Regions from separate parts of the Homo sapiens genome. Here all the other regions are linked to region 6. The links are contacts of gene promoters, found by promoter capture Hi-C in blood cells and fetal thymus (Javierre and others, 2016). All regions are on one chromosome and are shown on one strand. Each heading gives the region's core, a stretch centred on a gene start or on the middle of the fragment in contact. The rest is flanking DNA. Distances are from core to core; before and after follow the strand shown. Region 1 holds the start of IGSF8 (immunoglobulin superfamily member 8). Region 2 has its middle 3.2 kb from the start of CD244. Region 3 holds the start of ATP1A2 (ATPase Na+/K+ transporting subunit alpha 2). Region 4 overlaps KCNJ10 (potassium inwardly rectifying channel subfamily J member 10). Region 5 overlaps KCNJ10 (potassium inwardly rectifying channel subfamily J member 10). Region 6 holds the start of VANGL2 (VANGL planar cell polarity protein 2). Region 7 has its middle 5.0 kb from the start of KCNJ9.

Region 1 (3,580 bases), core at 757-3,256, 300 kb after region 6:
GTTAAATGACACCACCTTGCAAAATATGCTATAAGGACTAGGACTAATATCCAAAAGGGCCTTCTTGTGTAAGCATTTCATAAATGACATCTATCATTATTACAATTGGTAACATCTTTCATCCCTCAAGCATCATGAAGGCATTAAATCCACTCGATAATTAAATCCATTATAAAGGGAGAGACGTATTCTTCCAAAAGCTTCCCCTATGAGTTTCAGTTTTCACATAGCTCGATATGCCTGTGGATGGATTTAGATGATGAGGTTCTGGAGCAACCTTCTGGATATTTCAAAGTGGGAATAAACAGGCACCTTATTGCCCTGTTCATGGGCCAGTGCTGGCAGTCCTGGGAAGTGAGGGCTGGACCTCTGATCTCCCTTCAAGGCCTCAGTTTCTCTGGTTTCTCCAGGGTTCCTCAATGTGGCTTCTACTGGCAACCCCGTGAGCATCTTCTCAGAGTCAGGCACTGTGCCACGCTTGAGGAATACCATGTCAAGGAAGGTCTGGTCTGGCCTGTGCCACTTACCCTCTCTGGGCCTCAGTTTCCTCTTCTGTAAAGGGGGGTGAGTGAGTGGGAGGGAAGGGGGATGAGAGGGGAGAGGGAGGATGTTGGAGGGTAGAGGGTGGTAAATGGGCTCTGGGGTCACCTCCCACTGACAGCCACTCTGACAGCCTTGGCTTTGCAAACCTGGCCATCTCTTCTCCCCATTCTGGTCTCATCCTTCCTGCCCCTGCCCACTTCCCATCTTTACAGTTCAGGAAGAGACAGAGCACCTGGGAAGGGTGCCTCCTCCATTCTCCCACCTCCAGGGCAAGCCCCACTCTTCCTAGAACAGAGCAATGTTCATCTCTTCCCACTGTCACTGAACATAGAGACTCCTTCACCTAAATGCCAGGTCTAAACTAAGCCTCTTAGGAAGCAGTTCAAATAATAATTCAAAACCTAAAACAAAATAATCCTTATCTCCCATTTTGTGTTAGTTTCCTGTGCCAAACACTTTATGTACATTACCTATCATCACAATAACCCTTTGGGTGATGTGATCAACCTCAATTCAATTTGCAGAGGAGAAAACTGAAGTTGAAGGAGGTTAAACAACTGGGCTAGGATCACCCAACCCAGAAATGACGTCACATGGACGGCCCCCTCTCCTAATCCATTTTTCTTTTGGTTTTGCCCTCTGAGGGGGTGAAAAACAGGTCTCCAGTGACCTTCTGGATCCTGGAAGCGCCCTTCAGCTCAAACCCTTCGCATTCAGGAACTCCTGGCTTCCGCCAACCCCTACTTCAGCAGGGTTTGCAGCGAGGACTATGGCTCAGAGCAAATAACTGAATTCTAAATGCGTGGTCACAGTCACCTCGCCAATCCCAGGGACCCTGCACCCAACTCTCCAGGAAAGGCTGGCAGGTGCGGGGTGGAATGCGCTCTGTGCGAGGGTGGGTGGGAATTTCGATGCGCAGAGGTGCAGTTAGCTCACTCCTGCGGGGGCCTCGGGCGGAGCCAGGGCCAGGGGCGGGGCGAGGCCGGGGTCCAGGGCGGAGCCAGGATTGGAGGCTGACGTTAGCCCTGCGGGGACGGGGAAGGGGTGCGGCTTGGGACTGGGGCGGGGCCGGGGCCCGGGGAGGAGCCAGGATTGGAGTCCGACTGTAGTCCTGGTGGGGCGGGGCGGGGGAGGGGCCGGAACTGGGGCTGGGCCGAGGCCCGGGGCGGATCCAGGGCTGGAGTCTTGGCGGGGCGGGGCGGGGAGGGGCGGGGCCGGGGCGGGGCTGGGACTCGATGCGACTCAAAGGTGAGTTTCGAGGGGCGGGGCGGGGCCGGGGCCAGGTGCGGAGCAAAGGCCGGAGTCTGGCGGGGGTGGGGCAGGCAGGGCCAAGGCTGGGTCCGGGGCGGGGCGGGCCTAGACGGGGCGGTGGAAGGGGCGGTGCCGGGGCGGGCCGGGGCGAGAATGGTTTCAGAACTGCCGAGGGCTGGAGGGAAAGCAGCGGGAGGGGCGGAGGGAGGGGATTCGGCAGCTCCAGTTCAGCTCGCTCGGCGCACCCACGCCTCGCTGCCCCGCTTCCTGCCCTCAACCTGGGCATGCGCCCCCCACCCTTCCGGCCCCCCAGAACCCGCGCCATCCCCCGGAGCCTCCCCAGAGCTGGCCGCGCAGGATGGGCGCCCTCAGGCCCACGCTGCTGCCGCCTTCGCTGCCGCTGCTGCTGCTGCTAATGCTAGGTAAGCCAGGCCCCCGTTCCGGTTCCCGGCCCTGCCGGGCAGGTGCCTGCCATCCAGCACCCCCCTAGCATTTCGGGGCTCCTCACATCCTCCTCCGTCAGGGGTACCTCCAGCCTCCCCGGGGTCGGCGTCCAGCTGCGCTTTGTGGCTGTCCGCCGAGCCAGTCTTGGGAAGAGTGCAGGCTCCCCAGCTCTAAGCCAGGGACTGGGGCGTAGAGAGGACCCACTAAGGTGCTGCCCCAGGCACTGCTCGGCCTCCCGGGGCAGGCCACACATCTCAGCTAGCATACCCACGTACTGGGGTCGCTGCACCAAATGCTGCGACTCCTTTCTGCCCCACACTCAGCTCCAGGCCTGGCCTTGGGTGCCCGCCCTACGAGGGCAGTGCCTGCCCAGCTTCATAATTGCCCCAGAGTTGGCTGGAGGCCCAGAGGCCAGTTCTGCCCACGATCTTTGAAGTAAGTCTCTCCCAGTTGCGCTCCACGCACTTCATCAACTGGGGGCAGTTCCCTCTCTCACCCCCATCTCCACCCTGGGTTGGGTCCCTCTTTGCCCTTCTTCCTGTCTCCCAAATGGCACTTGGCTCTGCAGCCACCCATCAGTTTTCACACCGCTTAGTTCCAGCTTCCTTGCCTCAGGAGAAACCAGGTTCCATGGAGACTGATCCTGGGATCTCCAAGCACCTTGTGCCTGCTGTGGTGGGTGTTCATGGTGGGGTGTTCTGGGCCAATCTTGCATGGATGCATGGGGATAATGACAGTGGAATTGTTTTTGGCCTGAACTGGAGGGCTCCCTGTAGGAGGTGGTCTGGGGAAGAGTATGGCATGGAGACAGTGAAACTGCCAGTACAGATGTTGATGAGGCTGAAGCCCTTGAAATGAGAGTGAAGCGTGGGGGTGGGGATGGTGACTTCAGAGCTGCTGTCGTCAAGGCAGAGGCTGAAGGTAGCCCCAGCTGCCTGTTTCTAGACCAGAGCTCCACAGTGGCACCAAGCAAAGCCTTCCCCTGCTGCAGGTCCCTGGGCCCTGCAGGGTTAGGATGAGTCCTCTCCCTGGTCCCTGGGCAGGTGGCAGGAGGATGTACAGAGAGGAAGGCGCTGTGGGGCCTGGGTTGCCTAGCACTTGGTGTGTTTTCCCCAGTGGGCAGCATGGAGCAGGGAGGAGCCCAGGGAGGTGGGGAAGTGCTGGCCTGTGTTTGAAAAAGGAGCACGCAGAGGTCTGAGCACCCACTGCCTGTGGGCACTTACATTCATTTCACAAATGAGGAAAATGAAGTAACTTGCCCCAGAGAGCACATTTAGTGAGTGTTGGGGCTAGGATTTGAACACAGATCTGATTCCAAAGCAGGCCTCTTTGCTGTCCCTTT
Region 2 (3,951 bases), core at 687-3,186, 470 kb before region 6:
ATGTCAAAACAATTTCATGGTCAATTATGGATATTCAAACCACTAAAATAACAATTTGGTTGTAAGTTGTATTGGTCTGTTTTCACTCTGCTGATAAAGACAGACCCAAGACTGGGAAGAAAAAGAAGTTTAATTGGACTTACAGTTCCACATGGCCGGGGAGGCCTCACAATCATGGTGGGAGGTGAAAGGTACTTCTTACATGGTGGCAGCAAGAGAAAATGAGGAAGGAGCAAAGTGGAAACCCTGATAAACCTGTCAGATCTCGTGAGTCTTATTCACTATCACGAGACTAGCACAGGAAAGACCCTCCCCTATGATTCAGTTACCTCCCCCTGGGTCCCTCCCACAGCACGTGGGAATTCTGGGAGATACAATTCAAGTTGAGATTTTGGTGGGGACACAGCCAAACCATATCATAAGTTTATCTGATTACACCACTAAACTTTGATCACATTCATTTCTTTCTAGGTGTCAACGTAGCACAGAAAAATTAAAAGAGAACATTGGCTTGCACAAATGACTTTATCATTATAACCCCAATTTTGATTTTCTGTATTTGTAATTCACAAACTAGATAAAATTCACAAACTAGATGGTAGGGCACTTAGAAGTCATTATGTTTTTTTTTTTTTAATTGCAAAACACTTGGTCTACTAATATGTCAAACATAAAAATCTCAGAATATAATTTCATACTAAATCAGATTCTGATTTATACAATGTAATAAAAGATACAAATGTATAAGACAAATTTATATTTAATTATCTTTAAATAGGAGGCTAAATAGGAGGCTATTCTATGGTGCATTTCCCTTGCAATTTGGGAAAACTTTTTTGTACCTTTTTCACGTAGAAACATTTTGTTCCAACACAGGGAAGCAGAGATTGATTCCATTTCCCACACCACATTGCTAGTGTCAGAGAGATAGCCTGCGGTTCTCTGCATCGTCAGAGCTGTTTCTCACACTGAATCTGGGAATGGCAAATTTCTTGTTATGTTGAATTCTGAGATGAGTTAAGACATGGATTGCACTCTTTAGCCTTTGCTCCTGTGGATGTGGGTTCTCTGCGTTATCTGATGTCCCATAAATTGTTTTGAGAGGCTCTGTCTTCCATCTTCTTTATGAGACTGTTGCATCTCTTACCTTTAACCTGAACCTGAAAGTTATCACAGCCAATAAATAAACAATAACTGGCTACTTCTCTTCCAACAAGTGAAAGCCCACAGAAGATAAATGTACATAGAAGGGAAAGCGATTTTCTAGCCCTTCTGAGAAAAAGAGACAGAAAAAGAGATTGTGCTTATTAAAAGTGTCGTTATGGTTTCATTCAAACAGGAACACAGACAATATTCAGATGGTTAGAAATAAAGGCAATGAGTTCTCATTTAGTGTCTGGTGTTACAGAAGTTATTTATTGAATTCTTGCAAGATTGGTTGACTATACCTATAAGATCAGTTGGGCTCTTTGTGAATGGTTCATCTTTGACAACTTTAACAACTTCTTTCCAGTGGTGCAGTAAAGGATTAACCTTGTTCAAAGAGAGGCCCAACCTTTGCCCTTGGCTCCTGGGAGGTAATCTCTAAGCTTTGAAATGTCCTGCTTGATAAGAGTATCTTCATTACTGGGGACCTTGTTAGCATTGTCAATGCTTATAATGTGATTTATGGTGGGAGCTCTGACCACATAGCATCAACTCAATTTCTGGAGGGGCCAGAGACTATGGTCAGCCACATGGGTGGTCAGCCATGTCTATGTGAGCAAGTCCCAATAAAAATTCTGGACACCAAGACTTGGAAGAGCTTCCCTGCTTAACAATATTCTCTGTGTGTATTGTCACACATAGTTTCTGGGAGAAGTAGGCCCTGTCTGCACAGCTCCACTGGGAGAGGAGAACTGGAAGTGCTGTGACTGACTCCTTTGTTTGGGACTCTCCTGGACCTTGCCTTAGGTACCTCTTCCCTTGGCTCATTTTCATCTGTATTTTTTGCTTTAATAAACTCTAATATTACAGAAGTTATTTGTTGAATTCTTGCAAGATTGGTTGACTATACCTATAAGATCAGTTGGGTTCTTTGTGAAGGCTTGAGTAAAACATTTGTAAAACAGCTTTCAGTGAGTTTTGTGAGTCATTCTAGTTAATTATCAAACCTGAAGATGGTCTTGGGGACCTCAAACTTGCAATTTGTCTCAGAAATGGGTGGTCCTGGGGACTCATGAAATTTGTAGTTGGCATCAGAAGTGGGATTTACTGGAATGACCTTGACTCACCGAAGCTTGATGAAAGCATGGTTTGGGCAGGGGTTTATGAACCTTTGATTCCCAGATGGCCGCTAACCTTTAAATGCCCCTGTCTGAGTCCCCTGTCCCAGACTTATAAAGATCTCGTGAATATGTATGGGAAATGTAGCTAAGGGAGTCTCTGGTTTATATTGATTTTGTAGGTCTTGGGTCCTCGTGCTAAAGTGGCTGAGTTGCACAGAAGGACTCTCTGCACAAAAATTAGGAAGGGCAAGATAAAAACTCCACGAGGGCAGGGTCCATGGTGACTCAGCTAACCAGTCTATCTCAGGGGAAATAGAAATGTCTTCCTTAGAGAATTCATTCATTCCTTCAGCACTTGACAATCTACGAATCAACTCTGAAGAACCAGGCGCTGGGTGAGGCTTGGAAACACTAAGCTAAGGAGAGCATAGACTTTGTGTTGAAGAGCTCAGGGCTGGGGAGGTCAGTGTGTAGAACAAATGGCAGGTTGTTTTTTTTTTTTATTATTGTTGTTTGTTTGTTTGTTTTTGCTCTTGTTGCCCAAGCTGGAATGCAATGGCGTGATTTCGGCTCACTGCAACCTCCTTTTCCTGGGTTCAAATGATTCTCCTGCCTCAGCCTCCTAAGTAGCTGGGATTACAGGCATGCAACACCACACCTGGCTTATTTTTTGCATTTTTAGTAAAAACGGGGTTTCACCATGTTAGCCAGGTTGGTCTCAAACTCCTAACCTCAGGTAATCCACCCACCTAGGCCTCCCAAAGTGCTGGGATTACAGGTGTGAGTCACTGCGCCCAGCACCTTTTTTTTTTTTTTTTTTTTTGTGACAGAGTCTTGCTCTGTCTCCCAGGCTGGAGTGCAGAGGCACAATCTCAGCTCACTGCAACCTCTGCCTCCCAGGTTCAAAGGAGTCTCCTGCCTCAGCCTCCCGAGTAGCTGGGATTACAGGCACACACCACCACACCCGGCTAATTTTTGTATTTTTAGTAGAGATGAGGTTTCACCGTGTTGGCCAGGCTGATATCGAACCCCTGACCTCAAGTGATCCACCTGCCTTGGCCTCCCAAAGTGCTGGGATTATAGGCATGAGCCACTGCGATCAGCCTACAAATAGCAGATATTGTGTGATAGAGTTTGTCAGGGACCACAAGACAGACACACACTCAGTGGTACAGCTGCTCCGAGTTCTGTTTCCAGGGGATGATAGGTCATCCACATGCCTGGTGGGAAGGATGGAGCTGGTGTTGGGGTCAGGATTGGAGAGGCTGATTCCTAATTCACATTCATTAGTGGGTTCCAACAGCTGGATCTTGTTTTCCACCTGTCGTGTGAGGAAGTTTACCCTTCTTTGTTATATCATGTCTTGTGCACCACTTCTCAAGGTTAAGGACATGGCCAGATCAACTCTGAAGAAATTCCCCAGGGTTGAGGGCTGCCCCTTGGGAGCAGACAAAGGAGAGAAGAGATGATAACCATTAGACCCGCTGGAAAAAGCTATTCAGAGCTTAAAAAAATGAAAACAAAACCACAAAAACCTCATCTATGTCCAGTGTTTTTTGTGTGCATATTCTGGAGTATCATTTTTAATTTGATCCTGAAAACTGCCTTGTGAAGGTGGGGAGGATGTATTGTTGACCCTACAGGCTCAGACAGCAACAAGGCCAGAATCACATAGGTTGTAAGT
Region 3 (3,592 bases), core at 860-3,359, 280 kb after region 6:
CTGGGACAGAGTGGGGGCAGCTGGGAATCCGCCAACGCTCCCCCCATCTCAGCCTCTCCGTGGTAGCTGGAGCAGGCTGGGCTCCCTCCCACCAGTGTCGTCCCTTCCCCCAACTCCCACGCTGCCCTTCACAGCCACTGGGTAATGGGGGGACAGTGAAGCCTGCCTCTGCAGTGGAGATGCAGGGGAGAAGGGATTGGAGGAAAAATCATCCCTAGAACAGGTTGTGGGTGTCAGATGCCTTCCCTCTTCAGGGGTCGTTGGTAGGTTGAACTCTAAGCTCCAGGCCCTAAATACCCCCACCTCACCCAGCCTCTTAGTTTAAACAGCCCAGATCTGCTCCTCATCTTGCTATTGCATCACCCACAGCAACTTAGGATGGTGATTAAGGGGAGTTTGGGGGTGCTAGGGGAAAAAGACAGACTGGAAAAGTCAAGGTCTCATCACTTCCCAAGCAAGACCTCCTGAGCTGGGTCTACCTTGCTCTAAGATGGAGCAGGGTAGGGGGCTACCTCCCCTCCTTCTCTCTTCACTTGGATGGGGGAAATGGAGGGCTTATCTGATCCTTTAACCCCTGCCTCTTCTCAGAGGTCCTGCATCTCAGCTAGGGATGCCCTTTCCATGGGGAGCCAGAGATGTCAAGATGCAGCTGAAGGTCCCAAGACAGTATATCTTCCTGCAGCTATGACCTCTTCCTCCGTGAAGCCCATACCTCACAGCTCCTAAGGGCAGGCTCACAGACTCTCAAGCACCCCCACACAGTGACATTTATGCTTGTGCAGGCTTGAAGGCTTGTACATTTACAAATTTGCCTGCTGAGACACAAACACAGGTACTCATCCATGAGTAACTGCAGGACTCCCCGCCTATGGAGAACACGTGGTCAAGGACACACACTCACACACACACAGACACAGACACACAGATACATGCATGCACTCCAATTCTATTTATGGCTCCAACCCTAGCTCAGGAACCCTGGTGTCCAGGCTCAGGATTTCCCAGCTGCTCAACTAGGTGCAATAACATGTCCTTGCCTGACTCCTCCTGGGCCCAGAAACACCCACGGCTCCCCCTAGGCACAGTCTTCCTCATACCCTCCTGTTCCGCAGCATGCCCTTTCCCTCTGTGTCCTCTTTTGCCAGTATTCCACAAAAGGAAAGCAGCCAGGCACAGCATGTAAAAGGATTGGGCCACTCTTCTCCATATGGGAATTTCATTTCCAAGAATTCAAAGCCCTCTCCCTGCCCGCCCCATTGTTGTTAATCTTCCTCTTGGTGTAGCCATTGCTGCAGAATGCCATGGACGGGTGGACTGGGGGGGGGGTCACCTGTCACCAGCCTCTGGGAAAGTCCTCAAAGCCCATGGCTTGGAACCCACGGACAATGCTGCTCGGGACATCCGGAGGGGTGCTGGGGTGGGGGCTGGGTCATCATTCTTCCTCCCCACACCCCGCCCAGCTGTCCTTGGCACTCAGGGCCCCTGGAGCTGGTGTCCGGAACTACTTGGTGACTCTGGGAGCCGGATGCTCTACTGCCCCTCTCTAACCTCAAAATGGACCCCCAGCCTCTCAGGCTAGGACTCCCAGAGGAATGGATATTTTCAGGAGGTGGCAAAGACAGGAGGACTCACAGTGCCAAACATCCTTTCAGCTGGGAGGCCGGGAGATGCAGTGAGAGGAGGGACTGCTGCAGGGAAGGACTAGAGATGTGGGAGTGGGGTGGAGGGAGAGATGGAGGGGGCATGTGTGGTGGGCTGTGGGTCTAACTGTGGGCAGGGGGCTGGGGCGTGCAGAGGAGAGGAGAGCACTAGGGTATGTGACCGCCGTGGGATCTGTACACACATTGGTAGTTTGGAGACTGTTAGTTTCAAGTTCCAAGTATCCCACTCAGCTCCTCTCTCCCGCTCCTTCCACATCCCATTCCCACTTCATCCTTCCTCAGCAGCCTCCCTCACCCTCTAGACTGCGACCCCTGCTCTTTAGGGATACTCACCCCACGGCCCATCTTGGGGCAGAGTGGCTGAGGGACCTTAGCGGGAGAGGTCACCAGGAGGATCCCAAGCCCACACCAGCCCGTCTGGGACAGTCGGAGACCCTGGCAGACAGAGAAAGCCAAAGCAACAGGGTAGCTTTAAATAGGTCCTTCTCCCCCTCTCCCCCGCCTTCCCCTCCTCCGAAAGAAACGTTTGTTGAAACAGGATCCCTGAGGACTCCTCCCCTCCCGCCCCTTTAGCCACTGGCCCTAGACAGCCCGTTTGTCCCACGGCATGCCCCCCCTTGGCTCCTCTCAACCCCCTCTGGCCTGTGGCACTCACAACTGAGAGAGGCTGCAAGGGAAGGGGGCCTGGGTCCCAGGTTGGGGGGATATGCCCCCTTGGATCTGGCTGAAGGGGAGCAGTTGACTCAGAATCCCAGGATGACAGAGACCATGTGGCCTAACTCTTCTTTTCCAAGTGGGTAAACTGAGGCTCAGAGAGATTAAACAATTTGAATTGATAAGACAGAGCCAGAACTCAGGTCTCCCGAGTCTACATCCAATCTCCCAGAGAAAGAAAGAAACATAGACCACTCTGTTCCTTCTATTATAGAGGTTGCAGGGACACTGAAGCCCAGAAATAGAATTTGAACCGAAGGCTGACCTCTGCACTTGAGGCACCTGGAAGGGGGGCCCAGGAGGAGTCAAAGGTGGCTCGGGAGGCAGCGGGAAGTTTGGAGATGGAGGCAAGAGGGTGTCCCCAAACCCTGCCAGATGTAACCTCTCCAAAGTTTTGAAGGAGAATCAAGACTCTGGTAGGGAGGGGCAGGCCAGGGCTAGAGGGGAACGGGTGGGACTCCTAGCAGGCACCTGATGACATCTCTGGGTTTTGTTTACCCCTCGTTTACCGTTTCATTGCTGTTGAAGAGCTCTAGACTGAATCTATGCCTGAGTAGAGTAGTGATAGGGAGAAGTCAAAAGAGAGGAAAATACAGAACCTCTAAGATGTGTGTGAAGGTCAATATCATAGCAAATATCAGACATGTGAACGGGAAAGGAGAGCGACTGTTTCCTTCTTCCAGTGGGGAAGGGGAAGCAAAGCTGCAGCATGCAGGACTGAGGCTGGAGAACAGGCCTCTCTGCAGTGAAGTGGGGGAGATTGGAAATGTCTGAGGAGTGAGGATGCCCATCAGAGTCAGGAGCAATCCCAGAAATGCCTAAGGCTTTGCCTGGGGCTGGAAAGGGTATCTTTAACCTTATACCAGCTAGAAACTGGGGACAACGAGATGACCCAGGACAGGACCAGCTGGTCTAGGGGTGTTGTTGCTGCTCATTTGATGAGTAATCCAAAGGATGAGGGGCACAGAGAGGAAGGGGAACCCAGAAGGGGCAGAGAGAAAAGAAAAAATTCTGCTCCCGCCTTCTACTGGGAACAGTCAGAGGACAGGATTCCCCTGGAGTACCCCTGTTTCTCTGGGCACAGAGATGGAGTGAGGGGAAGCCAGCGGAGTGGGGCAGGTCTAAGTGTCCTGAGTGCAAAGAAAGCAGAGAGGAAGGGAGGGAGGGAAGGGGGGCTTTGGCCAGAGGCCTAAGGTGCCTGCTGGCTGGGCTGGGTC
Region 4 (3,709 bases), core at 480-2,979, 360 kb after region 6:
AAACATATAACCACCCATATCTATCCTGGATTCTGAACTCTTCAATTTGGAGTGACTAACACAAGTTGTTATCTAAACCTTTAAACCTATCTTCCAGGCAGCCCAGAGAAGATCTGTTTCCCTGTGTCCTGTGAATGGAAGGACCCAAGCCAATATGTTCCTTTGAAAAGAGTCCAGTACCCAGGCCCCATGGAAAGGTCTGAAAATAATATTCCAGATTACACTGTACCTGGCTTCTCTTCTTCCTTTCCTGCTCAGCCTAGATCCTTCTTCCTTAACCCCAACTCTTTGGGAGAAGGGAGGGAAAATGCAAGGGCCTTCCTCTCTTAACACGGATGCTCAAGTAAAACTAGATTCACAGGGCACAGATTCCCCAGAAAGTTAACACAATCCCACCATGAGGGATGGGTAAATTCTCAGATTTCCAAACTGCTGTACAGAGCCTCTGAGAATTGGTGATGCTTTGTTAAGGTTTGGGCAGGAGCAGAACTCTGTGGCTGGCAGCCACTATTCTCAGTTACACCTCCCAGTGCCCTTCTGAAAAGTGCCAGCTATTTCATTAGGCAATGCTGGAAGGAAATGAAATTATACCTTCTGATCAAATAACCATGGCTTCCCTCAGCCATTCCTGAGACTTGGTATAAAATGAAGAAATCAGTGTCATCTCTACTCTCCTCTGCCATGAGGCCATTTTCAGACAAGTTAAAAAGTAGACTTTAAGAGATCAAACTCAGCCTATTCCTTGTTCCCTGGTGGGGTCTGTGGTAAGGGTCAGGGAAGGGCATATAGGCACCAGAGCTTTATCCAAAGCCCCAAATCCCTAGAGTGCTTTCTGGTCTCACTTTGGTACCAAGGAAGCCTCACATAGTGGTACTGCATAGTCCCACTATAAGTCAAGTTGCAGTTTAAGGTGGTCTCAGCCAATTGTTACAAGCTACAGAATATATACATGCATCTATGTACAGAGCCTTGCAGAGAAACACAAAATTTTGAGGCTAGACCCATGATCACCACCAACTATAATTGCACAAGGTCTTGTTATATTGATCTCTCCTCGAACTCAACTAACTATATCTTGAAAACAAAGACCCTTCGGTGTCCATCTACAGTAAACCCCACCATTACCTTCTAGTTGGCATAAAAACAAGAACCACAAAAACTTGAAAAATCTGAAACAGAGAACAGAAGGCCAAGAGCCAGCTTCTGCGTTCTCAACTTTATTCAACATTAGACTTACCTTATTTCTTTCAGTGTGTAGGGACAAGATGTACTGCTGTGTGTGTGTGTGTGTGTGTGTGTGTGTGTGTGTGTGTGTGTGTGTGTGTCTATACCTTCCTATCCATTGCCAAGTTAACCTCCATCTGGTTTATTTGGCCATGCTATGCTTTCTTCCCATTCCCCTGCTGTCTATTCTAAGCCCCCAGACTCAAGCCTCTAGACTCTTGGATGAAACAGTGAGAAGAAAACATTTTCTGACTTACCCTTTTGGAATCTCCTCCATTATTACCCAGGCTTTGCTTTAAGTTGCACTTTAAATCACACTGTCCTATTAATGCGATCTGGCATCTTCTCCCACAAGCCCCCTACAGGGAACAACTACCCCCTACCTTAACTCTAAATGGTTCTTTAGACTATAGTCTGTCTCCTCTGACCTGAAATCCTCTTTTAGGCAATAGGCCGAGCTTTAGAAGCAGCCAGGTCTGGTGAGAAATGGGCCCCCATACCAACTGTGGACTTGGAATATCAGCAGAGTAGTAGGCACAGTTGTAAAAAGGGGAGATTTCGGTAGGCACAGGTGTAAAAAGGGGAGATTTCAGAAGACGGGCGAAACAACTGATGGGGGAAGATACCTGGGGTGAGAAGATGAGAAAGAAATGATGCTGAGGGACCTAGTGAAATCAATGAAACTCTTGAGTCTTGCTTAGGCTCGCAAACAAGAAGTGGGGAGGCTTGGGAAATTAGGATATGACATATATGAAAGGTTTATCTAAGAAGAAAGAAACAGAGATAATATATATATAGAAAGATGTATATAGATGTATATATGCCCAAATATATTGAATGTACAGAAAGGAAATATTCAGAGACTTTAGCATTGGGGGCAGATATCTTGGCCTGGTTATGGGGTAGGACACCCAGATTTTCAGACTTACAATCAGTGGTCCTGGTTTCAACATGGAAGTGAGATAGCTGATGAAGGATTTCAAGTCTGGAAATGGGAAAGGGAGGGGTAGAAGTTCCTTTTCAGAAATAAAGAGGCATTCATGAAGGCTTTTGTTGAATCCTATGCTACTGATAGGACCAGGAAGAGAGGAACTCGGAGGACAATAGGGAGGGGAAGTCTTGGAAAATCTACCACTTACACTGTGTGTCCCCATCCCCAGCAGCGTCCTGCCACTGTAGCGCCTTTTTAAAATAAATAAAATAAAATAAAGCACCATTTTGTTTCCCTTTCATGAAGTACACTGTATTTCCGTCTTCCACAGGGGTGGGAGCTGCTATTGCTCTAGCCCCTGAAATCAAACTCAGGAGCTGAACACTTTGGTGTATGGGAGGCACTAATGGGAAGCCTCAACCCTGGAATCCAAATGCCAGGACTAATAGCTGTTAGGCTGAAGATCTCCCAAGGTCAAGGCCCAGCCTTTTGTGTGGCTGCAAGCAGCCCAAAGAGAAAGCCATGGATTCCAGAAGAGTTCCAATCCTGGCATTTGGGCATGGAGGGTGATGCTTTGGTTTTGATGCTTCTGAATGAAAATGAGGAGTGGGGTTACCAGCTGCTCTAGGGGATGGTGAAGTTCCATGAGAGGCTTCCGAAATCTCTGCAATGTGCTTCACCCCATTATTCCCCCAACCCCTGTCAGCCTAATAAAATCATCCAGTAGTTTCCCTATAAGGTCTGAGCAGAGAAAGAAAGCCAGTTATACTATTGCTACAAGTCCAGGACACTGTGCCCTCTCCATGGCTGCTGCCCTGGTCCTTTATTCTTGCTAGCTAACCTAGTTCACTTGTACAGTAACACACTACCTTTGCTGGAAAGTTAGCATGGGTCTCCAGGCTCAGTAATGGCCAACTCTACTGATGCAGAAGTATTTAGGGATGTTTTTTCCATTCATTGCACTAAAGACTAAACCAGGTCAAATTTATCTAGGAAAAAAAAGGTGTGTAAGATTTGTTTTGTTTTTGTCTGTTAAAAATAAGCTACTAAATAAAATGGATGACTCTTTGGTTGTCACTCTAGCTTCTTTTAAAAAGCTAAACCAAGACTGTCAAGGTCTGAACTCATAGACCTACCTACCCATGAGTGTGGAGGGTTGAATTCGGCTGTGCTGGAAGAACTTCTGACTGCATGGCCAAGCCCCTTCTGTTTTTCTCTCATGCTTTAGCGAGTTCCTTTCACATTCGGTTTTCATGGGACAATACTGAAAAAAACTTTAAGACCCAGAAGTATGAAAATTGGCTCAGCTTAATCCATAAAAGTCAAGTTGCTTTGGATCCTGGGCATTGTCCCTTTTGGCCAGTGATCACAAGCCCAATTTCCCTTCCATGCTACCATGTAGTCTTGTTGCCAGTTTTCCTTATATATCCTCAAGGTTCTTTGTAAGCTTATTCCTTTAATCACCAGGCATTTCTTCCCTCAAATCTCAAATAAATGGATTTCTCTTCTACCCTTGTCTGTCAGTAGCCTGAGAAAGGTCTGGTTGTTAATATC
Region 5 (3,747 bases), core at 1,181-3,680, 340 kb after region 6:
GGGCATGGTGAGGGGAAGGGGTGGGGAGAAGAACGGGTCTAGGAGCCTTAAGTGGGCTTCTGGGTCTAGAAAGAACCTCCGAAGGTCACTTTGACCCTTGCACTACCCCTAGGCAGAGTGAGCCTACCTCCTTTCACTTCCCACCCTCCTACCGGCCCCACTCCTGCTACGAACTCTGGATCACTGGAAAGTAACCCCACAGCCTTCTTAGCTAGGGTTTGGAGTTGGGGATCTCTATCAATTATAAGTCCTTCATGCTGCCTAGTACTGGCCTTTCCAGTTATTATCCTACGTCTGCACGAGGATCTGTAGGCTGTATCTACGGCTCACCTGCTATTCTGGTCCAGAGCATCTTCTAGCAGTTGGGAGCAGATGCCCTAAAAAGGGAAGAGAGGAAGGCCCATTGGGATCCCAGAGACTTGAGGGCTGACTGCACAGTGGTGTGCTGGGGCCTGGGAGGGTGGATGGGGTCACAGTTGCAGAAACTCTGTTAGATAGAGAACTAAGCTGATATTGGTTTGCTCATCAGCAAATATTATTGAGTGCTAATCTCCATGATGTTTCCTCCCATCAAAATTGCATGGGAGAACCTCAGGGCCCTTCTACTCCTTCTCCTTTCCCCTCATCTAAAATGCTTCCCCTCTGGCTACTGGATTCTCCTTAAGCCGCCTCATCCATCTGTCTTCCTTCATGCAGGAACACACCTCCCCCAGCCCTTATACTCTGGTGTGATTCTTTTGCTCCAAATGTTCCCTACTGGAGAAAGAGAACTGCTCAATGTATGTAACTTCAGCTTTCCCTGCTGTGCTCGGGCAGTTAGTTACTATAGGAGACAGAGGACAGTGAGACACTCACCTCTGAATCTAGTTCTGTATCTAGTAAGTGTCCTCATGCCATCCCTACCCCATCCTCCTTCTTAAGGGAGGAATGTGGATAAGGAATAAGTAAAAAGTTGAGAGGGGGCAGAGAGATTGCCTCCCAGAGTCATGGTGAGCTCCCTAGACTCCTCTGAGTGAGGGTCAGAGGCTGCTCTTCATGCAGGGAACAGGAGCCCCAAGAAGGAAAGGGAGCTGAGAGGACACCTGTCAGGGAAACAGGCTCAATTTTCTGAATATGAATGACAGGTACAGAGTACCTCTGTGTCTCCAGCTCCATTAAGGGTACAAATAGGAAGAAATTGCTCAGATAGCAACAGGTAAATTTTGACTTAACTGGAAGAATTCCCTGGGCATAAGGGGAGGGACAGAAAGAGGTGGAGAACTCATTGCCTTGATGAGAAGGAAAAGTCCCCCTTTAGTCACCTACTGAACAAAGCTTGAGTGGCCTGGAAGATAGTTCCAATGACTCTCAGAGCCCCTGTGGGGTTTCCAGCGGCCTCAAAGGAATCCCTTGATCATTTCCACAGACCCCAGTAAGAGCATTGCTGAATGTCTCCTCCTCGTGGACCTCACTATTTGCTGCTTATTCTAACTCTTCTTGTTGGGCCAGCTTCTGCAGGGGTGAGGGAGACCCTGAGACCTACTAGGTGGGAGGCCCAGATTGAAGATAATGGGCTGTGGCTGTGGCTGTGGTTGGCTGGGGAAGAGTTTCTGTGGATAATGCTCCAAGGTTGGCTCCACAGAAACTGGCACTTTTGGACCCCAGGGTGAGGAAAAGGATCTTGTAGGAAGAGATAAGTTGAGATGAAGAAGAAGACCAGGGTTGTTGCTCTGATTCTGATGTAAAATAACATGAGCTACCAGCTAGCAGTGTGATCTTGGGAAAGTTACCCCCCTCTTCTAGGCCTTGGCTTCCTCTTTAGTAAAATGTGGGTATTAAACGTGATGACCATAGAGGACTTCCCAGCATGAATACTCTGTGACACAGTCCAGTAGCAAGTTGAGAAGCCCAGACTTTAAGCAGATTTAAGCAGGCCTGGGTTCAACTTGCAGTGCACCCCTTACGAGCAGTCCTCCTGGGCAAGTTAGTTAACCCATGTAAGTCTAGTTTCCACCCGTTCATCTGAGGGCAATGCTATTGCCCCCCTAGGGAGGCTAGGATGAAGCACGGCATGGAGCGTCCAGCACAATGCCTGGCGCACCGTAAAGCCTGAGGTAGGAAGTTCATGGTACTGTGGGAACACAGGGGGATAGCAGCCCATGTTGTGGGTGGGGGCATCCAGAAAGGCTTTCCAGAGAAAGTGACATCTAAGCTGAAGCCTGAAGGAGGAGTAGAAATTAAGCAAAGTGGGAAAGGAAGAGTGTTCCATGGAAGAGACCCCATTATTTGCTAAGAAAAGCTTGGTCTGTTCAAGAACCGAGAGGTTTTGTGTGGCTGGGGACATGATGCATGCGTGAAGTGGGTGGGTACAGATAGAGAACACTGATGCTAGGGAGGTCAGCAGAGACCAGGTCATAAAGGACTCTGTTCCACCAGTAATTCTAGGGACTTCAGAGATAGGGTCCCTCCACTTCCTCTCCTCTTCTTCCTACTTTTCATTCATCCTTTCTCCCAAGACTAATTTCTCTTGTCCTTGGTCACACGAGCACAAGGAAGCATTGGGCTCCCCTAGGACGACCTGGCCAGTGCAGGAAGAAGCTTTAAGTTCAGAGTTGTCTGCCTCTGGACAAGTTTTGGCTTAGGCCTGAAGTTTTCTGCCTCTGTCCTTTCTCACCACTAGAGAGAGATGTGCCTTCCACAGAAGACCCTGGATTTTATCACTGAGGCACTCCTACTAAGCACTCCCACAGTGGGCCTCAGTTTCCCCATCTGCCCCTCTCATTGTAGAGAGTAGGGAGAGTGTTGACAGGGTGGGGCTGAGCACAGCCTGCAGAGAAGAGCTAGGGAAACTGACTCAGTGCCCCCAAGTGTCCAAACGTTGAAACTTCAATGGGAAGCTCAGAGGAAGGACTTCCGAAGGATGAAGTGGGTGGCACATGGAAAAGGGGGCCTGAAGGAGGAAAAGTGATGTAGAACATCAATCCTACAGGCTCTTTAAAGTCAAGAAATGCCAGGCACTGAGAAGGACACAAAGATGAACAAAATACAGATTAAGAAGCAGTCCAGAAAAGGTTCTCTGTTTGGGAAGATGGGGATGGTCCTTCCTGGAAGGCACAGAGCTGATGAAACAGCCTCTACAGGAGTTGGCCCTGGGGGTGCTCTCACAATGGGGAGTAGCTCTTCTGCCTCCCCTACCCGCCACTACCTCTTGGGCCCTCCACCCCCTAGGTCCAAGCCTCCCCTCATTTCCAGCCAACACCACTTCAAGTTCAAAGACAGGAAAGTGTACAGAGAAGGGCCCTTCAGCTGGGATCTGGTCAGCCTCCCCCGCCCTTCTCTCAGGTGGAGAACCCTGTCTTGGCCCTGGGACTCCAAGGAATAGGTCTCATCATACCCTCCCTAGTTTCTCAAACTCTTCTGGTAGATCAGGTGACAACTCATTAGCCTTCAGCCCAAGAACATTATCTCCAGGGCCCTGGCCATCCTAGGCCTTGAGAAGGCTGCCAGCTGCCTGATACTCCTGAGGCTGGGGGCAGACAAGAGGGCGAGAGGCTGAGGGATAGTAATTAAGGAACTTGGCTCTACTCAGCAGTCTTCAGCACACACTTGCCCACCTCTTGGCAGGCTGAGAGGGTTTTGGAGGAATTATAGAGAGGTGGGATAAAGAATAGTGGGTTGGAAGTCCCCTTCAATTCTGGGGCTAGAGTAAATCTTACCCCACAACTCACCTGGAGAAAGGAGATCGAAGGGATGGTGTAACTTGAGCAT
Region 6 (3,688 bases), core at 337-2,836:
TCCAGAAAAACCCATCCCCCAAAAACAGGCACTTCATAAGACAACTCATTCCCTCCCACCCATAGGTCTCAGATACTTAAGGTACTACCCCTAAACCCAGGCGAGGCCATCCACGAAGTCTCAAAATCCTGCAGACAGCCTTCTTTTCGGGATTTTTGCCAGGAAAATCTGCCTGCAGAGTCTAGAGGTACCCCCGACACACACTCAGAAACATACATACCAGCTAAGGCAGGCACACACATTGATACCCATCAACACAGGTTACACACAAGAGAACACAGATTCACACCCCTTCCCAGTACACAGGTGCACACACACCTATCCACATACACTCCATTCTGCTCTTACACACCCACCTTCCTCAGTACCTACACACCTCTTTCCCGTGAACCCCTCTCCCAGTACACACACATAGACATACACGCCCTCCCCTAAGTATACATATAAACACATATCCAAACACACAGCAGATGCATGGTCAGCCGCTCCCTGGGTGCACACACACTCAAGCACAGAAAAACACCTACACATCCAAACCAGGGGCCCACCTGCAGGAACATGCAGCACGTCAAGGCGTGCACACACACCAAAACAAAGAATCATGCACACGGATCCTCCACCAACCCTTCAAAACTCACTAACGCAGAGCCCACAGTCCCCCAGATGGGTAAATATGAGTGGGGAGAGGGATGCCAGCGCCTGTCCCCTCGGCCCCTATACACAGTCTACCGCCTCCAGCCCCATCCTCGGTCTGTACATACACCCTATCTACTCTGCCCAACCCGCCCCCCTGACTCCACTCTACACCCTTAACGCATACCTGCCTCCGTCCCTCCCCACGCTCCTGAGGGGTGTATGCACCCCAAAACACCCTTGGCTTCCAATACCTCCAGACTCCGATCCTTCCACGCCTCTCCCCCCACCTCCAACACAAGCTCCCCGTCTCCGGCTTCAACCGGCTCCCCTGGGATCATTAAGGCCCCCGCCCGGGCCCAGGAAAGTCCCCGGCTCTCCAGGCCTGGGCTCCGCCCCCTCCCCACGAGCCCCTTCCCCTCCCCAAAGTTGGGGGGGGTACTCCGCTGTGCAGTGGGGAAGCGGACCGGAAGGGGGTTGCCCGGAGTCCAGCCCCCCTTCCCCCATAAGCCACCCCGCTCGCTCTGGGGTCGGGCACCCCCTGGCCCCTTGCATGATTTTCCTCCTTTTCCATTTCTTTTTTTCTCTCTCTTTCTTTCTTCTTTTTTTTTCAAACTTTGCCCGCGCCCCCGCGGCCCGGCACTCACCCGCCGCTGCGAACTGCCGGGTGGGCTCCGCGGGCGCCCCGCTCGGCCCGTCGCCTTTGTATCCGCAGCGCTCCGGGTCGCTCCGAACTCGGCGCTCCTGGACAGGCAGCGCGCGCGATGGGGGATGTTGAGGGGGGGGTTCTTGAGTCTGGTCACCCCCTGCTCCGTCCCAGACCGCTGCCTCTTCCCCCTCAAGGCCCCGGGGGCTGGGGGCCAGGGGGGAATAGGGGGCGCTCAGGCTCCCATGGCGGGACCAAGGATCAAGGAATCAAGGATCAGGAATCAGATCGGGAGCCGGCGGCGCAGGGGGGAGGGGGCGGAGGGGGAGGGGATGAGGGTGGGGGGTGCAGGGGGCGGGGGAGCGCGAGCTCCCGGGTGCCGCCTCCCGGCTGTTCCCACAGCCGCCGCCCCTCCTACCGCCGCGTCCATTGTCTGCGGCCCCGCTCTTCCCGGAGTCGCCGCTCCCCCAGCCCTGCGCCTTCAGATGCCCAGCGGCCCTCCCCGATCCTGGGAATCCGCGGTGGGGCTGACACTCGGGTCCCGAACGGTGGGCAGGGGAATGCCTCGATTCTTGGACTTGGCCCAGCCCGCAGTCCCTCCTGGGGCTGTCTTCCTGGACCCCTCCTGTCGGAGAAGGAGCCCCCAGATCCCTGGGGCTGGCCATATTCTCTTTAGGGCCACGGACCCGACTACACAAAATCCAATGGAATCTGGGACGTGGGAAGATTGATTTTTTTTTTCCCCCTAGGGGTCCGAGAAGGGAGGGTCATCCCTGATTTTAATTAGTGGCGAGAGGCGCACGCCTCTTCCCATGCATACGGGGATTTCCCTGACACCATCACCACCATATCCCCTCCTTCCAAAAATAATTTAATTACTTGGAGTTCTAGCTGCGAGCAGCGACCGCCCCAGTCAGTCTGGGACGCTCCCTCATTAACACATTTTTCCTCCCCTCTGGTTTGAGTGTTGGGATTAATTACAAAGGGAACCCTGCCTTAGGGAAGAAGGGGAGGAGGAAAAGACGCGGGCGCCTGGGAGTTTGAATGGCAGAGGAGAGGGGGCCTTCTCCCAGGAAACCTCCAAGAGGAAAAATGCCTTGGCCAGTTGGGTCCCCAACCCCAAGCAGGCAGATTGTCCATCCCAGGAGTTTCAGATACTTTAGAGTTGAAGGTGCCACACAGGGATTGTAGGATCTCACAAAATATCCTACACGTTTGGGGCATTTGTGCCTCCCAGTATGCCAAGAAACCAGTTAGGGTTCTTTTACATGTGACCCTACAAGAGTGAACCCACACCGTAAAAGCCTGGGCTGTGGGAAGTCCATGTTCCCCTTGGAGTAAGTGAAAGCAGTATTCAATTATCATTAATGTTATTGCCGTGCAACCCGCCACTTAGAGTAGTATCATTTCAAAAGCATCTTCACATACTTCTCCCTAAGCAGGCCAAGGCCTTTTCAATATCTCAGCCTCCTTCAGTTTCCAATCCTGGCACCTGCTTGAACAACCCTGTGATTAAGGAATCCCAGAGAAAGAGACTCCCAGCCTCTGTTCCTCACTTGTTTGGGAATTTTTGCTCCTCCCTGATGAAAACTATTTCCTGAGACCTAATCTCACCCCTTTTGATGGTTCATTCTAACCTGTCCAAAGATGAGGACAGAACCAACTATGCTGCATTGTTCAAAGATGCAGAACAGTAAAACACACTTCCTTTCTCCTTTGCCCAAACTCTGTCTTTCCTCATCCCCTCCTCCAGTAGTATGGGTAAGCAGGTGACTCAGCATCAAGACTACATGAAATATGCAGAATCATCATTTCAGGTACCCAAGTCCCTGCATGCGTCCAGGCACTCATTCACCTTGTGCCTATCATGTGCAGGCACTGGGCCGCACTGGGGCTCCTGGCAGTGACCACGACCAGGTGTATGAGGGAGTGGCAGGAGAGCTGGGGAAGGGTTAAGGGAAGTAGGGAGGACATGGGTGTCCCCAGCCCTGCCCCAAAGCACACCCCAGTGCTAGGCAGCTAGTGTGTAATTTGACACAGAGTCGGGGCTGCCGTGGCACTGTCTTGACTCTCAGGCAGATTTAGTGTGAATTATCTTCACATGCTGCTAGCCTGTTTCACAGACCCCAAAATGGCCCAAAGAACTGGAAAAAGGGCTTCTGATGCCAGAATTACAGATAATTCCATAGTCTGGCCCCACTGAAAGCTTGAAACCTAAGTCAGGATGTTAACAGACAAGGCTTCCCAATTAACAGGTATCAGGCATCAGGCTAGAATAAGCTTAGTCCCTCCTTTCTCTGACGGTGAGGTTGGGGGCTTTCAATTACATCTCTGCAATGAAAACACTGGATTACAGAGTCCAACAAAAAATTTTATTGGTGTGGTCTGTCCCATTCAGCAATTCTCTGT
Region 7 (3,606 bases), core at 956-3,455, 320 kb after region 6:
TCACTGAGCTGAACTGAGGCAGGAGAAAAAAAGTTTTCCCAGGCACCAGGACACAAAAGCATAGACAAGATTCTAGCTTTTGGCTTGGCACGGTGGCTCGAACCTATAATCCCAGCACTTTGGGAGGCTGAGGTACACGGATCGCTTGAACCCAGGAGATGGAGACCAGCCTGGGCAACATGGCGAAACCCTGTCTCTACAAAAAATACAAAATTAGATGGGTGTAGTGGTATGTGCATGTGGTCCCAGCCACCTTGGAGGTTGAGGTGGGAGGATCACCTGAGCCTGGGAGCTCAAGGCTGCAGTGAGCCGTGATTGCGCCACTGCACTCCAGCCTGGACAACAGAGTGAGACCTTGTCTCAAAAAAAAAAAAAAAAAAAAAAAAAAAAAAGGAACCGTGGTGCAAAATAGGAAAAGAGCTTAAAAAGAGCCTACTGTGGCCTGTCACTTGGAGAACAGGGAACAGGTGATACTTTTGGGAGAAAATAAAAGGTTCCCTTCCTCCAGCAGACACAGCTCTGAGCTGGGTGCAGGAATTGGCAAGCTGAATGCAGTTCAGTCCTCAACTTGCCCCATCAGCAGGTGCCTTTGTGGCAGCCCTGAGATCAGCCAAACTGGGGAGGCTTCCCTGGACAAGATCATGAGACATCTTGTGCAAAATCTGGCAAGTGGAAGAGGAAGCATGATGGGGAAGACAGCAGACAGTTGAGGATATGAGTTTAGTGGAGCAGGGAGGCCAATCTGGTTGATTGCAAAAATTTGTATAAATTCAAGGGGGATGGGGCTCTAGAAAACTCAGAGCAGAGGAAAGATATGGTTGAAGGAGTAGATGTGGCAAATGACTGAAGCTGAAGATTAGAGTGAAATGGGGAGAAGCAGAGCACAGCTCCAGGCCAGACGGAGGCAATTTCAGCCAGCCCCTTGCCTCAGGCTGGGTTCCTGAGGCTGAGGAGCTTGCTGCCTTTCTGGCTACTTTCAGCAGAGCAGGAGGATCAGAAGCCTTCACACAGAGTTCTATCTTGCTTTATAGGACTGGGTAGAGATAGGCTAAGATTTAAAAGTTATATGACGGTTAGAGGTGGTACAGGATTAGCCCTTACTTTACAGGTAGGAATAGGTCCCAAGAACATAGTCAGGACTAAGACTCAGGCCACCCGACTCGAGATTCCTCGTGTTTCTTTATTCCCAGTTGCCTCCCTCCTATCACAGTGCATTGGATGTTAATGGAATTTCTATCAATTGGACCCAACTGGAAAGGTACTAGAAGTCCCTAGTTAGAGAAATTTGTTTTTTTCTTTTTTCCTTTTTTTTTATTCCTTTTTGAGACAGAGTTCCGCTCTGTTGCCCAGGCTGGAGTGCAGTGGCGCGATCTCCGCTCACTGCAACCCCCACCGCCCGGATTCAAGTGATTCTCTTGCCTCGCCCTCCTGAGTAGCTGAGATTACAGGCACACACCACTATGCCTGGCTAATTTTTTTTTTTTTTTTGTATTTTCAGTAGAGATGGGGTTTCACCATGTTGGCCAGGCTGGTCTTGAACTCCTGACCTTAGGTGATCCACCCACCTTGGCTTCCCAAAGTGCTGGGATTACAGGCATGAGCCACCGTGCCTGGCCATGTTTTTCTTTTTTAAAGGAAAGAATTCTTTAGTAGGTAACTAACTATTCCCTAAATTATGTCTTATAAATGTGGGTTTGTGTATATTGCATTTATTTAAAGGGGGTGATCTACTTACATAATGATTCGTTAGTGACTAGGGGAATGTAGCTCAGTCCTTCTCTTGGATTTCTCCTCTGCGGCCTGAGTCATTCAGCTATGAGATGCTCCACTACTAATGGAATTTGTTCAGCACTGTGGGATGTGAGCACCAAAACGCCACTTGGAATCCTGAATCCTGTGGTGAGCCATGCCAGTGTCTCTGTTCTTTCTAGCCACTTCCCCTGACTTGTTAAATACTAACTATTCTGAGTCTCTATCATGCCTCCCAACCCAAAGCTTTCCTGATTCCCTCTGTCCACATCTGCTTTGCCCAGCGCAAGCCCCTCAGACTGCTGCCCACTTGTGGATTCTTTCTAAAACAGGTGACACACCCCAACTCTCCTCCTCCTCTGCTCTGAGGTAGCCTCTGCCCCATTATAAATGAAGTAAAAGTAGAGATGAGGCCAAAGCTGGAAGCAGTGAGTCTGAAAGGAGAAATGGAGGAGAATAAGGAAGACGCAAGTTGGGAAACTGAAAGAAGAGAGAGGGGTCCTCAAAAAGAGAAGTTTCCTCTGTCATGTTTCATGGTGGACATTGGATGTTGTAATTCTGGGGAATTTTTCATACCAACATGTACTCAGGGGTCATAGCCTCTGGTTGGCAAGATTGTGTTTAAAACGTGCAAATTCCCTCTGGCATTATTCTGAGACAAGCTTTGGGGTCAAATATATGTGGATTCAAATCTCAAAACACTTTCCAGCTATGTTACCATAGGCAAACCACTTAACTCCTCAGAACTTCAGTTTCCCCATCTTCTGATCTATCTGATGTAGTAAACACTCACAAATATTAGTGTCCTATGCCCCTTATTACTGATTCCCTACTGGGCTCCTAGAGACTGTCCTAGGACTTCTCTTTTGCAAACAAATTTAAAAATGAAAACCTGACATTTGATATGTACAAAAGAATATAGATGGTGGACATATGTCTATATGTTATAAAGCATAATTTAAGAACAAAAACTCAATTTAAATCACTCTTTTAAATTCAGAACATTACAGTGCTGTTGAAGCTACCTGTGTACTTTTCCACAAGCTCCCACCCCTGCTGTTCAAGGACTTATAAAGTCTTTCTAACTGCCCAGTCCCACCCGACTCTATCCTCACTCTGATTGTTAGTAGAGGACACTTCTGTAGATCACTTGTAGTTTTTTAGTCTGATTGACCAGAAGTAACATAGAATTAAGGAAGTCATGAGCACTTCCAGCCTCAGAGAGAAAGATGCCGAGTTCAGTCTGAGGGCCTGTCACGTTTTTTATCTTCTTTTTTTTTTTTCTAGGTCTTCTGTGGTGAAGACCTCCTTCACTGTGACCTGTAAGCACGAGGCAACTGTTTGGGGTTTTAAAACAAGGGCACAGGGACCGACATGATGAAAACAGGTTGCCTCTTCCTTTGAGACTGGAGAGAAAGGTGAAGGATGGGTCAGGTCCTGATCTTTCTGATTCTGATAGTGGTCATAGGAATGAAAAAGCACATTGCAAACAGATGAAAGAAAGGGAGACTTGACAGCATTTGTTGGCTTATTTGACATGTCCAGGAATGGGCCCAAGGCAACGGTGAAGAGTAAAGGTCACTTGTAGTTTTTTATTCTAATTGACCAGGAGTAACACAGAACTAAGGAAGTCACGAGCACTTCCACCTTTGGGGAGGAAGGTACTGAGTTCAGTTTGGGGCCTGTCAAGTCAAGATGGAAATCCCCTGCAAGCAACTAGAAATATGGAGCTCCAAAAAGAGTGTAGGATTGAAGATAGAGATTTGGGCATCACTCAGGGACAATCGTTGGAGCTATGTAAATGACAAAGGCTCAAGGGGCAAGACACAGAAAGAGAACATAAGGCTGAACCTTGAG

The links. The method cuts DNA at HindIII sites, captures the fragments that hold promoters and counts their contacts. A CHiCAGO score of 5 or more calls a contact.
Region 1: the fragment with the promoter of IGSF8 here is called in contact with the fragment with the promoter of VANGL2 in region 6 in 6 of 17 cell types (M0 macrophages, M2 macrophages, M1 macrophages and 3 more); the score reaches 10.6 in M0 macrophages.
Region 2: a fragment that was not itself captured here is called in contact with the fragment with the promoter of VANGL2 in region 6 in 1 of 17 cell types (activated CD4 T cells); the score reaches 6.1 in activated CD4 T cells.
Region 3: the fragment with the promoter of ATP1A2 here is called in contact with the fragment with the promoter of VANGL2 in region 6 in 1 of 17 cell types (M2 macrophages); the score reaches 5.2 in M2 macrophages.
Region 4: a fragment that was not itself captured here is called in contact with the fragment with the promoter of VANGL2 in region 6 in 2 of 17 cell types (M0 macrophages and M1 macrophages); the score reaches 5.8 in M0 macrophages.
Region 5: a contact is called between a fragment that was not itself captured here and the fragment with the promoter of VANGL2 in region 6, in 2 of 17 cell types (M2 macrophages and M0 macrophages). The highest score is 5.4, in M2 macrophages.
Region 7: a contact is called between a fragment that was not itself captured here and the fragment with the promoter of VANGL2 in region 6, in 1 of 17 cell types (M0 macrophages). The highest score is 5.1, in M0 macrophages.

What each region holds. Positions count from the first base shown.
Region 1 is chr1:160,097,045-160,100,624 of GRCh38, reverse strand. IGSF8 (immunoglobulin superfamily member 8) reads left to right here and starts at 2,006. Exons shown (of 7, transcript NM_052868.6): 1 at 2,006-2,216. The coding sequence starts at 2,153. RefSeq lists a silencer at 1,422-2,251 and enhancers at 2,818-3,344, 3,345-3,580. The HindIII fragment of the contact is 5,064 bases long and covers 203-3,580 here.
Region 2 is chr1:160,864,120-160,868,070 of GRCh38, reverse strand. No RefSeq gene overlaps it. Among named protein-coding and RNA genes, the nearest start is that of CD244, 3.2 kb to the right of the region's middle. The HindIII fragment of the contact is 689 bases long and covers 1,592-2,280 here.
Region 3 is chr1:160,114,276-160,117,867 of GRCh38, reverse strand. ATP1A2 (ATPase Na+/K+ transporting subunit alpha 2) reads right to left here and starts at 2,109. Exons shown (of 23, transcript NM_000702.4): 1 at 1,995-2,109. The coding sequence starts at 2,006. RefSeq lists enhancers at 1,835-2,618, 3,371-3,592. The HindIII fragment of the contact is 17,914 bases long and covers 1-3,592 here.
Region 4 is chr1:160,036,990-160,040,698 of GRCh38, reverse strand. KCNJ10 (potassium inwardly rectifying channel subfamily J member 10) reads left to right here. Exons shown (of 2, transcript NM_002241.5): 2 at 1-3,232. Among named protein-coding and RNA genes, the nearest start is that of PIGM, 6.9 kb to the right of the region's middle. The HindIII fragment of the contact is 3,750 bases long and covers 1-3,604 here.
Region 5 is chr1:160,057,359-160,061,105 of GRCh38, reverse strand. The region is part of intron 1 of KCNJ10 (potassium inwardly rectifying channel subfamily J member 10); the gene reads left to right. Among named protein-coding and RNA genes, the nearest start is that of KCNJ10, 11 kb to the left of the region's middle. The HindIII fragment of the contact is 299 bases long and covers 2,281-2,579 here.
Region 6 is chr1:160,398,462-160,402,149 of GRCh38, reverse strand. It overlaps VANGL2 (VANGL planar cell polarity protein 2), which reads right to left and starts at 1,586. Exons shown (of 8, transcript NM_020335.3): 1 at 1,281-1,586. All of the region lies in intron 3 of LOC105371466 (a long non-coding RNA gene), which reads left to right. The HindIII fragment of the contact is 3,661 bases long and covers 1-3,487 here.
Region 7 is chr1:160,074,713-160,078,318 of GRCh38, reverse strand. No RefSeq gene overlaps it. Among named protein-coding and RNA genes, the nearest start is that of KCNJ9, 5.0 kb to the left of the region's middle. The HindIII fragment of the contact is 416 bases long and covers 1,998-2,413 here.